2 separate regions of the Homo sapiens genome follow, and region 1 is linked to region 2. The links are contacts of gene promoters, found by promoter capture Hi-C in blood cells and fetal thymus (Javierre and others, 2016). All regions are on one chromosome and are shown on one strand. Each heading gives the region's core, a stretch centred on a gene start or on the middle of the fragment in contact. The rest is flanking DNA. Distances are from core to core; before and after follow the strand shown. Region 1 overlaps ADARB2 (adenosine deaminase RNA specific B2 (inactive)). Region 2 holds the start of ADARB2 (adenosine deaminase RNA specific B2 (inactive)).

Region 1 (5,308 bases), core at 146-2,645, 320 kb before region 2:
CAGCACAGCTCATGCCGTTTCTTTGTTTAATGAGCTCTTGCCTTGTGATTTTCATGTTTGAGCAGTTACTTTGTAAGTATTTTTACATGGACAGCTACGTGTAAGGCTGACAAAGAGTAGCACAGACAGATATGTGGTGGGGGATTGTCAGGCCAGCGCAGCCACGGAAAATAATATGATCAGATCCTTCATCATGCTGGTAACCAGTGGTTGGCTGTATTCATCTAATTATTGAGACAGCACATTCACATCCGAGGGATTTTATTATAAGAGGTTTATAAAATTTAGAGTTGAAGCTGATCTGTCTCTATCTACCAAATAGAAGCTGGACTCAGGACCATGGTTTTTCATGATGAAGAATCAAATCCTTGATAAATGATGGCAGGTCCTCATCTTCCAGAAAGAGGGAAAAAAAAAAAAAAAAAAGGCAGAGGAAAGGAAATAGCTCGGCTGAGAAACAGAGAGCGAGTGAGCACAGCGCTGACAGAGAGGGAGCCGCTGCCTGCCGCTGAGAACACAGGCTCTGCACCCAGGGCACAGAAGCAGGAGAAGATGTAATTCTCGAGGACCACATTGATTAACGCCCGCCCAGGGCTAGCCACAAATTAGAGCCCCGTCCTGAAAGAAGCAGTGCTATGTCTTGTAAGGCATGCTTCCAAAGGAGCTTGCATTGCACACACCCCGGAGCAAACCGGCAAGTAGAGAAGACGGACACTTCCCAATGAAAGCGAAATGTTCCTGCCTGCCCTGCGCCGCTCGGTTCTCCTTCCTCTCTCTGCTCTCACAGGGTGGTGTTACACCTCCACTGCTCTCCATCTAGTGTGTTTGTGCAACACTCGCCTCCAGGGGGAGCTCGAAGCTCTCCCGCCCTTCACCTCTGATCAGAGCACTGATGTGAGTCAGGTCCCCAGGATGGTGGGGGCACCGGCTGGAGGAGGGCGGGGGCTCCTTCAGACCTGCCTTGATTAACCCGGACCAAAGGGGCCCTCTGCACTGGAGCGTTACAGTCAAAGCACAGCCTGTGCACCTGCCCGTCGGTTCCATAGTGTTTGTCTGCTGCTTGGTTTGTGGGACAGGTGGCTGGTCAGGATCTGCAGGACCTAACCCCACCCACGCTCAGCTGTGAGGAGATTAAAGGGTCTCAGTGTCTCAGGGTCAGGTTCCAGGCTGGCTTCTTGCGATTTCACAGAAGTCACTAAATCTTTTTGGGTAACAATGGGCTTACTCCTAAAAGCAGTGGGAGGTTGGGGGTCAGGGAGCAATTTGAACTTATTCTTCTCTAGATTCTCTTTCATTACAGAGTCTTATTCACATTGAATAAATGTTTATTCATACCTACTGTGGGCCAGACACTATCCTGGGCCCTGGGACTATAGCAGTGAACAAAGTGGACAAAAATCCTGCCTTTATAAAATGCACATGCTGAGAGTTAAGACTCACGATGCTCAGATGGGGCTGCTGTTGTGGAAGTCAGGAGAGTCCACGCTGTTAGTGTTGACTGTTTGTTTTGTCCTTTCCATTGTAAGATTCACCCCATTGCCTCCTAAAGTGAACCCCAGGGCAGGGAACATGTTGACAGGGAGGTGGTCTAATCTAAATCCAGTTAGAACACTCGGAGAGCTCCTAGACTGAAACAGGGAGAAGGAAGCACATTTTGGATGATTGTATTTGTTCCTTGATGGGTCTGCTGAGGAAGAGCTATGTACCCATTGCATGTGCTATTTCCATCTCAGGTTATTTGAAGAGAATACAGAGGAGAAGCAGCCCCAGGTACCTACTCTAGTGGCAGAGTGGCAGGCTTGAGGTGCCTGCATCTGAAAGCTGCTGTGAGTTAGGGAAGCCCCCACCAAAAGGCCCAACAATGGGCAACATCCCCCATCAAAGCCATGGACATATCCCTGGCAACAGACTTGGCTCTTAACTTCCACGAGTTTTTAAGCCAAGGTTGGCAAGAGGAATAGAACGGGGACGTCAAGGTACATCAAAGGAAAGATTCAAAATATATGGAATCCATGAGGCCACATAGGATATTTCACAGCTTTATGCTTTTCTGATAAATCCTGGAAGACTTAATATAAGGTCAGGAGTTTTCAGTGCTCTGATTCGGTAAATTTATTTACAGAGACAGCTGTCCGAGGGTGGAATAAGGACTCGGGAGTGAGAGGGAGGCACTGTCAACACTTTCAGGCCAGACCAGCGGCTCACGCTTTGGAGACCGGGGCTGCAGGTGAGGGCACAGGTGGACCTCAACCCACCTGGACACTCCACCAGAGGGGAAGGCACAGTGAGAGGCAGTGCCCTGTGGCTGAGCTGACGGCACTGGTCTTGGGGCAGGGAGAGGAGCCCGTAGGTCACAATGGCCTTGGTGACCCCAGCCTGCAGGTCACATGTCCCTTACCTGGGAGCCATCTACTCTGGAAACCATGGATACCTACACATCTGTGCAAAATTGACACAGTGCCTCAGTTATTTGGGTAAGGCTGACCAGTGAATTCTGATAAATTGCTGTAACAATGACCACCCATCTGTCAATGTGTCACCAAGCATAGGCTGTATACACTGTGCAGACTGTAAGGATCCACTGGGCTTTCGGCCTGCGGCACCCAGGTATGAAGGGCATTAGCGTACCTCCTATGGCCACACGCAAACTCCGCCTGGGGTCTACCCCATCACTCTCCACTCCATTTTGCAGATGGAGCCCACCGAGTCTCCCTAGAAACAATGGCTTGGATCCTGGGAGCAGTGGCACCCACCTGTCTGGTTCTTATGGCCGAGAGCCCTGCAGCTAGATGTTCTGTGAGCCTGTGTTCCCATTTTATGGAGACTCAGAGAGGTATTTGCCTTGTGCATTTCTCCTGGAGCTTACATCACTGAAGGGGACCCTTGGCCAGCAGTCTCTCTGCTCCGAGTCCCCGAGTCTCCACAGGTGGCCATGGCCATTGGGTTCCAGCTCAGCTCCCACCTTTGCCACCGCCTTCCCAGCCCTCGCTAAGCTGGAGTCCTGGCCCGGGCCCTTGTCCCAGCTTCACGCCATTGCTTACACCCTTGGCCCCCTCCCTTCCTGAAATCACTGTCCTTCTTTTCCCCTCTAATCTGAGTCCTGTTTATTCCTTAAAACTCAGCTCAACTCCCCTGTTCTCACTGAGGGATTCTGCAAGCCTCCTAGAAACCCCTCCGGCCTCCTGGCTCCTGAGCACCCGGCCTTGAGCCTGCAGCCACCTTGCCCAGCACTGCTTGGTCCTGGCAGTGTGGCTGCTGCGTGTTCATGGTGCTAGGGGGACTCAAAGGTTCTAGGGGAGGCAGGGACTACTCTTCCTAGGCCTAGTTGTCTTTGCTACCTTCCTAGGGCCTAGTGAGTTCCATGCCACTGTGTATGCAGTAGGTCCACTATGTATGCAGTAAGATCACTGTGTATGCAGTAGGTCCACTATGTATGCAGTAAGATCACTGTGTATGCAGTAGGTCCACTATGTATGCAGTAAGACCACTGTGTATGCAGTAGGTCCACTATGTATGCAGTAAGATCACTGTGTATGCAGTAGGTCCACTATGTATGCAGTAAGACCACTGTGTATGCAGTAGGTCCACTATGCATGCAGTAAGATCACTATGTATACAGTAAATCCACTACGTATGCAGCAGGACCACTATGTATGCAGTAAGACCACTATGTATGCAGTAGGTCCACTATGTATGCAGTAAGATCACTGTGTATGCAGTAGGTCCACCATGTATGCAGTAGATCCACTATGTATGCAGTAGGACCACTATGTATGCAGTATGACCATTATGTATGCAGTAGGTCTACTATGTATGCAGTAGGTCCAACACATATGCAGTAGGTCTACTATGTATGCAGTGGGACCACTATGTATGCAGTAGGTCCACTGTGTATGCAGAAGGTCCAACACATATGCAGTGGGTCTACTACGTATACAGTGGGACCACTATGTATGCAGTAGGTCCACTATGTATGCAGTAGGTCCATTATGTATGTAGTAGGTCTGCAAAGACTTTGCTGATTGATCTGAGGAAGGATAAGAGGATATGAATGTTTTTCCTGTGGCTCTGGGAGTAAGAAGCGTTTAGGGCTACACACCTAACTACCTCCTGGCCTAATGGATGCTCTGTGGGCCTGTGTGAGAGCAAGAAGAAAGGCTGAACACCCCTGTGAGAACCATGTCAGAGCCGTGGCTCCAAAAACCACGCGAGATGGCATGCTCTGAGGCCTCTTCCTCGTGTTTAATGACTCGTGGCAAAGTGTGGATTCTCGCGGATATTTACAAATGACTTCCGTTTACCACCGGACAGTTCTATTGCTGAGTGGTCTGATTTCCTGGATTATGTCCTAAGAAAGTTTAGGACAATGCCCCTAAAGTGGTCATTTAGTGCCCACGGAAGCTTGGTGCTTTGTGTGTCATGATGGTGCATCAGGAGTTTGCAAAAAAAAAAGAGAGAGATAAATAAAAAGTAAAAGGCACAGATGGGGCATGGACAGCTTCTCATTGCTTGTTCCATGTGATGGAACTCAACACATCTGCTCTGCTGCGGAAAGCATCTTTGCACTAATTTGTTTGTCAGTGTCCATTGAGAGGACGATCTGTCATCCTGTCGCATTTTGGTTGCCCCGAGATGTTTGAAGACAAGGCTAGCCACAAATTGGAACTGTGGCCACTGGGGAGTAAGTGGTGGAAACCACCAGCTGTTCTAAGTAACATCAATTGTGATTTTTTTGTAAAGATGAAATTTCAACCTAAGGTCTCCAAAAGCATTTATCAGCTGCATGAAAAAAAGCTAATCACCGTAACAGAAGAGTGAGTCTCTTCTAACGCACGTCCTGGGGTGCGTGCGTGGAAGCCTTGTTACAGCTGGAAAAGCAAGAGAAGGGGGTGGTCAGAATTCAATGAGCCTGGAGCCTCTGTTTTGCTCCATGGTATTTTAAGTCTTTCTGGTCAAAGGTAACAAGCATTATCCTGTAATTGGACTACGGTTTCAGGAACAAGAATTGAGATTTCATTGTGCTACTGCATTTGATTTCCTGATCAAATGCTGTGATCTGGTCATGGTTCTCCTGCCCTATATACCACCTGTTTCTCAGGATACTTTACGCTGAATGGCATTCATTTATTTGGGTTTTTGTTTCCCTGAATCCATTTTAATCTTCCCGGAGCATAGAGACTATGCTTTGTCCTAGAACACAATAGATGCTCAACAAATGTTGCTTTGATTGAATCAATTCAAGTTTGTATCCTTCAAGCAATACCTGAAGTATCTAATCTTTTATACTGAATGTGTTGCTGTCCAGGAT
Region 2 (4,797 bases), core at 1,375-3,874:
AAAATATCAGCATCTGTAATAACTAGGTATCATAGATGAAGTAATCAATTCCCAGGAAAATGCAAATAATTATTTAATGTGTCTCTTAGCTGGTTACTTTACCTTTTAATTTGATCAGTTACATCTACATGGTTAACGTTTCCCCAAAAATTGAATCTTTAGCCGTTTGATTTGACTTTCCTATCAAGATAGCTGCCGGCAGGTGCCCTGGGAAATTCTCCCGCACGCCAGAAATCTCTTCGTAACAGAAATCAGTGTACAAAACCTGAATGCCCTTTCCCGCTTCAATTTTTGGCTATGAAAATTAAGGGACTTGACATATTCAAAATAACCAAGGTATGGAAATATTTGCTATAGGAGTTTTATTTTGAATTGCTAAAGTTAAGTTTATAGCAAATGAAGTCTTTCCCCAGATTTCCTTTTTCCCCCTAAATTGAATACTTTCTAAGCTAGCATGACTGACGCTTCCTGGCAAGGCAAGTGAATTTGGAGAAAGGCAACACTTTCCTCCTGTTTATATTTATAAAATGCATTATTGCGAACTATTACTCCACATTCTTCAACTCTAAATATTTAAATAGACTAATCAAAAAATATTGGGAAATGTGAACATTTCAAGTGTAAAGATGATGCTTCCTTTTTCCTCTTTTAAAAGTCATATTCATTATTCAATCCGGTGACTTTCTCAATATCAATGCCACTTTGTGTTGGCATTATCTTTGGAGGACACTAACAGGTCTGTTTCAAAATGATAATTTCAAACAACAAAGTGAATCGCAAGCGCACACTTAGCAGCTGAGAGGTAAATGAGAACCACAACATCACCTCCCTTCTGAAACCAAAGGCTCCAAAACCTTTTGAGGAAGTTGTGGGGGCCAATCCCTCCCAGTGGTCCTGACGTTCGGTCATAATGAATGACTGTTTGCTATTGACATTTATGCCTGCTGACTGTCTGGATAATTTCTATTATTGGAAGAGGCAATAAAGGACCTGGTGACGGTTCGAGGGCACACAGGAAACGGTCTGGTAGAAACTTATCTTAGGCCAATGCAAAGATGAAAATTCTTCAGGAAAGATGGACAACCCCAAACACACCTAACGTTGCCTCCTGCTTTCAAACAACTGGCAAAGCTGATCAATTCTAGCTGTGTTTTTCCAACCGTTCTTTATACTTCTACCTCACTTAAAAAAAATCAGCACATTTCAAATCATGATTAGAACTGAACTTTCTCCTGCAGGCTCACTAGGAACTGACAATAACACAGGTTCCTCTAGGAGAGAAGGGTCGGCATGAGAAGAATCTTTTAATTCTTCCTGGCATGCACACAGGCTACGATGGCACTGGGGGCATTGCTCTCATATTGGAGCGATTGCTAATTTTGCAAAATCCCCAGTGTGAAAGCCCTCCCTTGCTGTAGCATTGACTAACTTCAGCGCGGCCCAGCCCCAGGAATATCAGTAACAAGGCACAGCTGAGTTTGTCAGTGGCCGCTGTCAGCCGGCTGCTTTTCCTGCTTTCCTGGTTTGCGGTTTTTTTCTACCACTAACAAAATATGATGCTTCTTTCTGTTTTCCTGTATTCATTTCTGCTTATTTCTCCAAGGACGAGCCCTGTGTTCTCTTTACGACCCAATGTTTACAAATCGACGGGCACCACATTGAGTAAAAACTGCCAGCCAATTTGGAGAGGCGATCGCAGGGCTTCGCCTATCCCTTCCTCCGGGACAGTTTGGATGGGAGTAGCTGGCGCGAGGGCTCGTTCCCCCGTTTTTGGGTAATTCCTTTGGCACTGGGAGACGAGATGGCCTCCGGAGGGTGGAAGGCAGTGCCAGCCCGGCCGGCCACTGGGGACTGCGGGGCCCGGAGACGCGCGGGGTCCCCGGGGAGCTCCTCGCCGCCCTCGCCCCACTTCGTCCGGGTCCCTCAAACATGTCGCAGCGTGGCTGCTCACTGTCCCCTCTGGGCAAGAGGAGGCCCCAGACATTTCCACGGGATCTGAACTCCCGAGCGCCCTGCACGGAGCAGCCATCCCGCCAGCACCCCAAAGTGAAGCTGCTCACAACGGACAAGCCCGGAGACCCCATGAGAGGCCGGGGTGGAGAAGCCGGGGGTGAAGGGGGGCAGGGGCCGGCGCGCCACGCGGTCCTTACCTTTCCGCTTGGACCTCCGCCTCCTCCTCCTCTTGGACTTGCATTTGAGTTGACTGCTCAGCCCTCCAGACCCTCTGCCGCTCCCCAGGACCGAGGCCATGGCCGAGACCCAGGCGCGGAGCCCAGAGCCGCCTCCCTCCTGCACCTGCACCTGCCTCCTTCCCGGCAGCCGCCGCCGCCGCTGCTGCGAAGCTTGAGGTTGCAAACCCGGGAGCGGCTCACTTTTCAGGACTGAGCAGGAAAGCGCGCTCCGTCTCTCTGTCTCTCGAATTGTTCTCTATGACTTGCTCCCACTGGGCTGGGGGCCTCGGCTGGGCGCCTGGAGCGAGCTGCTCCCTGGTCAGGGAGGGCGGGGAAGGGCGCGCGGCGTCCTGAGTGCTCCGAGCTTCCCGCGGGCTCTGCCTCCTGCTCTGGGCTCCCAGCGCAGGGAGGCTACTTTTGCGCCTCTGCTAGTTGTTTGGCACCAGCCACTTTGAAGCCAATCACGCAGGGAGCTTGTCTATTTGCTGCAGCAGCGTCTAATTAGATCCAATCACAACTGCTTTCTGGCTCTGACATCAGCAGCAGCACCAGCCGCACCGCCGCCTGGCCGCTTGCAAACTCAGCTCCCGTTTGGACGGTGAAGCTCCCAGGACCGGCGGCTGGAGGGAGGCTGCTCCCGGGGAACAAGGACGCGGCGCGGGTGCGTCTGGGAGAGACCGGGGGAGCCTCCAGGAGGGACCCTGCCCGGGAGGACGAGGCCTCCTGCCGCAGCCTCGCGGACAGCTCAGCTCGCCCTGCTCAGAAAGACACAGGGACGGGTTTTTCCAACCAACAGTTTTTAACTAGTCAATTCATTACCATGCTCCTTGTGTCAAGGGGGGGAAATACCTCTTTCAGAAATGCAGAGACCGCACTTCCTCAGAAACGGACTGAGGTTTGCAATTCCCCAGGAGACAGCGTCCTGAGGGGCATTTATTCCTCAGAGCCTGCATGCTTGTCTGTTTGCCTCTTCTTTCCCCTCTTCATATTCCTTGGCCGTTTCCAATGCAAAAGATAAATCTTGCATAAAGACAGAGGTTTTGGGATCTGAGTCTGATTTTTGCCGTCAGGAATTTCATGTGTTGCTTTATTTAGGGAACAATGACACAAAAGGAAGAGAAAGCTCTCAGCGGAGAGTTTTGTTGCCAAATGTAATATTTGGATGGAAGAAAGTAACATTTACAAAGAGGTGGATTGCACACTGAAATAGTTTTAAGCAATTTTTTTTTCCAGGAATGTCCTATGTTTCAAGATTATACTTATGGAACCCTGGAAGTCTTATGTAAAATATAAAGAGGAATAGAATCTGGTAATCATCATTGCATCTTGTATTTAAATCACATAAGCTTTTAATTACAATAGTCATGTTTTTAAAAAAATCCACTCTAAAATTCATTAGCACACATTAACATGTTGATATAAAAATGGCACACAAATATTTCTGCTATTCATTGCCTCACATGCAACCTTTTCAGCTGCTTATGTGCCTAGAAATTTCCAGATAATTTTTATCATAAGAAAAAAGAATCACTCTGGGGGACATTGGAAATAATTAGGATGATCCTGTGTTGTTATGTGCTGAGCTGATAGATCGTAGCTCAGTTTTCATTGATGAGAGAGAGTAAGACATTTGATTTCAAATCTTAACTCTACTGCTATGACCTCGGGTAAGTTAAACCGTGCCTCAGTTTCCTCATCTGTAAACTGGGGATAACAACGTCACCCACCTCATAAGTTCATTCATACTCGTTGAATCAGTATCAACCAGTATAGACAGGAACTGGAACATGTTAATTACTCTATGATTATTTATTAAATTTTTTCCAGCAAATAATTTGGAAGGAATGAGCGTATGTTGCAGACAAGCCTCAGAAAGACAGGGCTTCTGCGTTTTCCTTTTAGAATGTTGAACCTTCTAGTCCAACTCAGACTGAGGACCACAATCAAACCAACATCCCTCTTCAGGGCTGGCTTCAACAACCCTGTTCCCATGACAGCACAGCTCAGCTCTGCTGATAATTCCCAGCGAGGGTTGAGAAGGCACATAGCTCTCTCACTTCCTCTCTGCAATACCCGAGATATTTGAGTGCTTAAACTATATCGAGAAACACAGCTCTAGGACTCTGCCTGTGAAACTTCTGAGCTTCACACAATGTGCTGCACTAATCCAGAGTTGCCCTATTTCTGTATCTGCAGAAAACCCATCAGGGGGTGGAGTCACCGAAGGAAGGTGCTTCAGAAGAGCTTCACACACACACACAGCCCCCACAAGGTGGTCAGCATTTATTAATGGCCCCAATAGCTCCATCATCACACGGAGCAACCGTGCTGTCTGGGAGACTCGTATACATGAACCCTTGTTTCACTCCAAGGGCAGGTATGGTGGCCGGAAAGTAACGTGTCTGTTAAATGTTCTTCTGATGTTGGTGGAGTGGGGAAACAAAACTGAAAACTGTCTTTGAACACTTCATTTAGACCCTAATTTGAAAGTTACGATCGAAATTTTGGCAAACCTTTTTCTTGAAGTTCCTCCAATTGGTTCTTTTTTGTATAATTTATGAAAATGCTGTTTTCACAGATACTTGCTGTTTTCTGTATTTTATTTATTTTGCATAAGACGATGCAT

The links. Contacts are between HindIII fragments. The CHiCAGO score rates a contact against its expected background, and 5 or more counts as called.
Region 1: a fragment that was not itself captured here is called in contact with the fragment with the promoter of ADARB2 in region 2 in 2 of 17 cell types (total B cells and naive B cells); the score reaches 6.2 in total B cells.

The regions. Positions count from the first base shown.
Region 1 is chr10:1,420,205-1,425,512 of GRCh38, forward strand. All of the region lies in intron 1 of ADARB2 (adenosine deaminase RNA specific B2 (inactive)), which reads right to left. Among named protein-coding and RNA genes, the nearest start is that of ADARB2-AS1, 100 kb to the right of the region's middle. The HindIII fragment of the contact is 6,008 bases long and covers 1-4,399 here.
Region 2 is chr10:1,734,901-1,739,697 of GRCh38, forward strand. ADARB2 (adenosine deaminase RNA specific B2 (inactive)) reads right to left here and starts at 2,625. Exons shown (of 10, transcript NM_018702.4): 1 at 2,151-2,625. The coding sequence starts at 2,250. RefSeq lists an enhancer at 1,957-2,553 and a silencer at 2,515-2,574. The HindIII fragment of the contact is 1,175 bases long and covers 2,341-3,515 here.